Linked DNA regions of Homo sapiens: region 1 is linked to region 2. Evidence: promoter capture Hi-C in 16 types of primary human blood cells and fetal thymus (Javierre and others, 2016). All regions are on one chromosome and are shown on one strand. The core of a region is centred on a gene start or on the middle of the fragment in contact, and the rest is flanking DNA. Distances in the headings are between cores, read along the strand shown. Region 1 holds the start of EIF4A2 (eukaryotic translation initiation factor 4A2). Region 2 overlaps ST6GAL1 (ST6 beta-galactoside alpha-2,6-sialyltransferase 1).

Region 1 (2,700 bases), core at 138-2,637, 280 kb before region 2:
CAAATCTGGATTTCGAACATTACAGAGGGATGAATGAGGAGCAGTACCACTGGACTGAGGGCCTGGCCCACTTTGCCATCTTGGTATTCTTAATCTTTGTCCTAGTTCCTGGCACGATAAGAATTTTCAAATAAATAAATAATTTTTGTATTAAAAAAGTAGTATTTAGAACCGAATATCTTCTATAATATAGAAAATTGAGTCAGCTTTCCCAGTAATGATTCTTTAAGTTGGCCTTCTGAAATATGAGAAAATGTTACCCTGATAGTCTCGATGATATTTTGCACCATGGGTAGGGTTGTATTTTAAAGTTAAATGACTACATATATTGTTTTTTGTTTTTGTCGAGAGACCTGAGATGGGGCTAATTGAAAACGTCTGGAGCTTAAAGACCCGTGCAGTTTACGCAGCAAGGATATTATTGCTCTGAATTTCAATAAATCAACATTTCACTATATATCGGCAAAGTCTACAGCCTTTAAAAAATGACCAATATAGACGGAATCAAAACCGATGTAGTCCCAAAGCGGCACAGAGCTGTATCTGCCAAAGCGTCCATTTAAATTCGTGCGTTCCAAGGAAAATTACTGCTTAGTTTCTATCCATTTGCAAAAGTTTATGATTTTTTTCAGGCATTCCTCACACCTGTTAGGTTAAAATCAGTAACACTCTTAAAAAGAAAGCGAGAGACCGGAAATGATATGAGAATAGAATTGGCCACTCCAGAGACATCTGCAAATGACACTCCATTTTTCCTTCTCGCGCTGCAAAATGTACCGGTAAACCGGACTTCCCGGGACTCGCTGGGTGGCCGACATTTTCCCTAGCAGGAATTTTACGTTTCCAAGATCTGAATGGATGTTAACGGTCGGGCTAAATGCCAGGCAGGTCTTCATTGTGGAATTAAACAGCGGTGGGAGCAAGCGGAATAACCGAGTTCCCCTCCCGCACCTGAGTGCCGGCAGCGAGCCGCGAGCCGGGACCTGTCACCCGCGGGAAGCCCCGGCCGCCCGACGAACAGCATCTCCGGTTTCCGCCTCCGGCTCCGGCGCGGCTCCCCCGGCCCGCCTCTGCGTCAGGGACGCGGAAACCCCGTAGGAGCAGGGCGGGCGGGGAAAGCGAGGTTTAACTAACTCCGCAGCTATATTCTTCCGCCGCGAGGTAAAGAGTCCCAACCCAACCCCGGGCCCTAGGATTTCCAGCGACCCTGTAATATCGAGAAATTACCACATTTGGGTTTTTCTACCAACTTGCTTAGGATTTTATCCGAGGTAACGACCCCAGGATCACAATTTTGTAGCTGACCGAAGCACGGCGAGAAAATTCCTCCGCAAGAAACGGGTTCCGGCCACGAGCCTATAAAAAACGGGTGGTTGGGCGCCGCTGTCTTTTCAGTCGGGCGCTGAGTGGTTTTTCGGATCATGTCTGGTGGCTCCGCGGATTATAACAGGTATGCAGTCTGTTGGCGGTCGCGGTCTGTAGTGAAGGTCATAGGGCGCCAGGGGAGATGATAGTGGATGGCACGGAGGCAAAAACTCTAAATTAATGGACGTTTTCTTAGGGTACAGCACTCCTGTGCCCTTCCAGAAGCTTCCATGATGGGTAGGGCCCGGATTGTGGGGAGATAGGACGGTGGTGCGAAAGCAGTGGCTAAAGGGCGTTTTTCCTCTCTAAGACATTACGAAACTTCGGCTGCTTTCCTTCCCAGTGTAGAGCACGGGAAACATGGAGTAAAAAGCCGTGGCGCAGTCCGAGTTCGGTACACTGTAACCAGGACCCGAAGCTTTATTTTCGGTCATCCACACGAGTTGGGGGAGGGTCCTAGGCTTTACTTGGGGAAGGGTTGGAGGCAGCGGTCTCCACTCGGCCACGGCGCGGAGGCGACGGGACAGGACCGGTGCCGGTGAACCGTTGGCATCGCCCTCGCCAGGCCGCTCCGCCCGCGTCAATCACCCGGCTTGCGCATTGTTGGGGGCGGAGTTCGGCGCTCCGAGCTCTCGCGAGACGCTCCGCAGTTGAAACGGGATCGCCATGCGCTCGGGCCTGGGGGGCTGCCTTTCCGGGCATCCGCAGGCCCCAACCTTTAGGGAAGGCGCACAGTGTGGATATTCGCCCTGAGGCTGCTGCTTTAGCTTGTGCAGGGGAGGCTAACGTGCTGAGACGGGTTGCAAAGGGCTATGCGCTTAAGGTGCAGTTGAGGTGGCCTGGAAGGGGTGTCTGACTGCAGTATTCTTGTCAGCAGAGAACATGGCGGCCCAGAGGGAATGGACCCCGATGGTGTCATCGAGGTAAGAAACGGTTGTGGATCTTGAAGCTTTGGAAAGGTGAGTGTGTTCATCTCATTTATGCGTGCATTATTTTTTCTAACTTACAGAGCAACTGGAATGAGATTGTTGATAACTTTGATGATATGAATTTAAAGGAGTCTCTCCTTCGTGGCATCTATGCTTACGGTTTTGAGAAGCCTTCCGCTATTCAGCAGAGAGCTATTATTCCCTGTATTAAAGGTAAAAGAAACTGGCATTTTTAGGAAATTGTTCTACATAGACATGAACCATAAAAGGGAAAGTAACCTCTGGGGGACTAGCACCTGTTTGTATTCCTTAAAGTGAAATGATGGCAATCATCTTTCGGGACTGACCTGAAATGAAGAGAATACTCATTGCTGATCACTTGATTATTTGGGCATAATGTTCCAAA
Region 2 (2,700 bases), core at 13-2,512:
AATCAACAGGGAGAAACCAGTTGATAGAGGGAGAAAGTGAATATACTAAAAAGAGGAGAAAATGATTAGTTACCCACAACATGATGGTGGTGGAGCCAAAGCGTAGTGGAGGATGAACCCCAGCAGGCGGGAGTCAGAGGGAAGAAGGTGCGAGTGGTGTAGCTGGAGGCAGTCAGTATTAGAAGGATGAGAGGGCTTCTATTTTCTCTGCAAAGTGGCATGCAAGGCCAAGTCAGAAGGAGGCTGAGGGGGAAAGAGGTTTTAGTAGAGAAGGTTTGAACAAAGAGATTTATAATTGTCATTGAGGTGAGTGGGACCGTCAGTAAACCTGATGAATGGAGTAGGATTTCCAGGCCATGCTGGGCTACTTTGAGGTTGAAGAGAATGAATTTAGAGAGAAACCAATCTCTGTTTGATACATGGATGGTAGGATCTGGAGGTGAGCAGGCAGCAGCAAAGAGGAGAGGGGAGAGGGGAGGAGCCCTCCCTGAGCACTCTCTTGGACTGCGGAGGCTACCTACTCTCTGAGCACTTCTTCGTGATGATTCAGTCTTCCTCACTGTGAAGAACGAAACCCCAGTCCTGCAAAGATTTGAAACTGTATTTAAGGCCAAAGTAAGGTTGCCTGGGAATTAAGAGTACTGGAGTCAGGCAGGCTTTGATCAGATCCCTCCCCCAACACTTCCTGTGTGAGTGACTTCAGCAAGTTGCTTTACTTTACCTTTCTGAGCCTCATTTCCCTTACTTGTAACACAGAAATATGAATAGTTACTATCCAGGGTTTTTTTTTAGGATCAAAGGAGTTACTATGTGTGGAGCATGTCACCCAGAGGCTGGTATGCAGCAAGTGCTTTGTAAATAGTAGCGATGGGCACTACTGAAACCTGAATGTCTGCCTCTGCCTGTTTGCGAATGACTCCACCTTCCCAAATCCCAACAGGGAAGGTGAGTCAGCTTGAGACCACTTGAGAGGCATCTAGCAGAAGGGAGGCAAAACTTCTGTTAAAGGATAATTTTTAGGGAAAAAAAGGTAAGATGATGACTCTCATACAGATATTAAAAATGAATTCATCATGAAGATTTTATTTTACTCGTATGATGGAACCAGGCAGATATTACAACTGGTTCAAAGGAAAAGTCAAAGCAACACAAATTTGGAGTAAAGGAGTTGAACTAGTTTTTCTGTGAGATAAGGCAGGGGGAGGGGAGAAATCAATTGAAACTCTCCTGGGCAGCATCCTGCCCAGTAGGCACATGTATTAGTTGCCTACAATTCACAAAGGGTTGCGAAATAGCTCCCGTGGAATCAGAATCTGACAGGGAGGAAGAGTGTGCTCAGAAAATGCATGGCTTTCTACTGAAGCAGATTTTTTTCCCATTACACTTCTAGATCTCTGTGCACCATTGTGCCAGGGCTGCGAGGAAGGTGGCCCACTTCCCGGGATACACTACCCACCCTCAAGAGAGCCTTTCCTGCTGCTTCTTAGGCAAGTCAGCTCTCTTTTCTCACCTCCTGTAAGCAACACTAAGTATCTGGCTGTTCCTTTCGTACTCGAGTCCTGGCCGCTCCATGACAGCACTTGTGGTGGTACTGAACTGTGATGGACACTTTCTATCATTGCCCTTTCTTACCTTGATATCCTAAAAAGCTGGTGGTCTGTCTTCTCTATCTTTTGTCCTGGTCAGTTATCCTAACTATTTTGTGTCTGTTTCTGTGGATTAGTAAACGGGGTCCCCACCCCCACTCCACAAGGAGAACATCTGGCACCCAGAAGTCACTGAGAGAATAGCTGTTGCTTTGGTAGAATTCTGCCTCTGAGTGGCTTGTTCTTTTCCCAGACGGAGAGGTCTCCTGACAGCAGCTCTCTTCTTTTTCTTTTTTTTTTTTTTTGAGACAGAGTTTTGCTCTTGCGCTCAGGCTGGAGTGCAGTGGTGCACTCTCGGCTCCCTGCTCTGCCTCCTGGGTTCAAGTGATTCCCCTGCCTCGGTCTCCCAAGTAGCTGAGATTACAGGCATGCACCACCATGCCCAGCTAATTTTTTGTATTTTTAGTAGAGACAGGGTTTTGCCATGTTTGCCAGACTAGTCTCAAACTCCTGACCTCAGGTGATCCACCTGCCTCAGCCTCCCAAAGTGCTGGGATTACAGGCATGAGCCACTGCGCCTGGCTTTAGCAGCTCTCTTCTAAAGCCATCTGGACCCACATTTGTTCAGCTCCCCTCCCTTGGCCATGATGAAGGCATGCAAAACAAAAAAGGCACTTTTCTTATTGAGAAGGTGGCTTTTTATAGAGAATGGTGTCATACTGTTAGGTTTCAGGCCAGCAGACCTAGTCAGGCATGTGACACTTCTGTGCCAGGTGTGGCTATGAGAGTCAACAGGAAAAATGATATATGTAAATGGACAGGTCTTTAAATAAATGCAGTTTTGACTATAAGAGTAAGAAGGTTTCTGTGAGACTCAACTCAGTACCTCCTGTACCCTGTGGGCCTGAGAGAGGAGACAATGGGACAAGAAGACCCAGTGGCTTCCTTGGAAGCTTTTGTGCTAGCTGGAGAGAGAAGACCTACTTCCTATATGCCTAGCAACAGTCCACACTGACTGGACTGCAACCAGGACATTTCCAGATTACTCAGTGGGGCTTATCTTGAAATAATAGTTGATGCCATTTGTTAAATATATTATATATACCATCTAAGG

What was found. Contacts are between HindIII fragments. The CHiCAGO score rates a contact against its expected background, and 5 or more counts as called.
Region 1: the fragment with the promoter of EIF4A2 here is called in contact with a fragment that was not itself captured in region 2 in 1 of 17 cell types (total B cells); the score reaches 5.7 in total B cells.

What each region holds. Positions count from the first base shown.
Region 1 is chr3:186,782,190-186,784,889 of GRCh38, forward strand. EIF4A2 (eukaryotic translation initiation factor 4A2) reads left to right here and starts at 1,388. Exons shown (of 11, transcript NM_001967.4): 1 at 1,388-1,450; 2 at 2,243-2,288; 3 at 2,375-2,507. The coding sequence starts at 1,422. SNORD2 (small nucleolar RNA, C/D box 2) reads left to right here and starts at 2,607; the gene lies at 2,607-2,676. RefSeq lists an enhancer at 2,064-2,293. The HindIII fragment of the contact is 20,029 bases long and covers 1-1,588 here.
Region 2 is chr3:187,063,130-187,065,829 of GRCh38, forward strand. The region is part of intron 5 of ST6GAL1 (ST6 beta-galactoside alpha-2,6-sialyltransferase 1); the gene reads left to right. Among named protein-coding and RNA genes, the nearest start is that of RPL39L, 75 kb to the right of the region's middle. RefSeq lists an enhancer at 2,505-2,684. The HindIII fragment of the contact is 2,549 bases long and covers 1-2,537 here.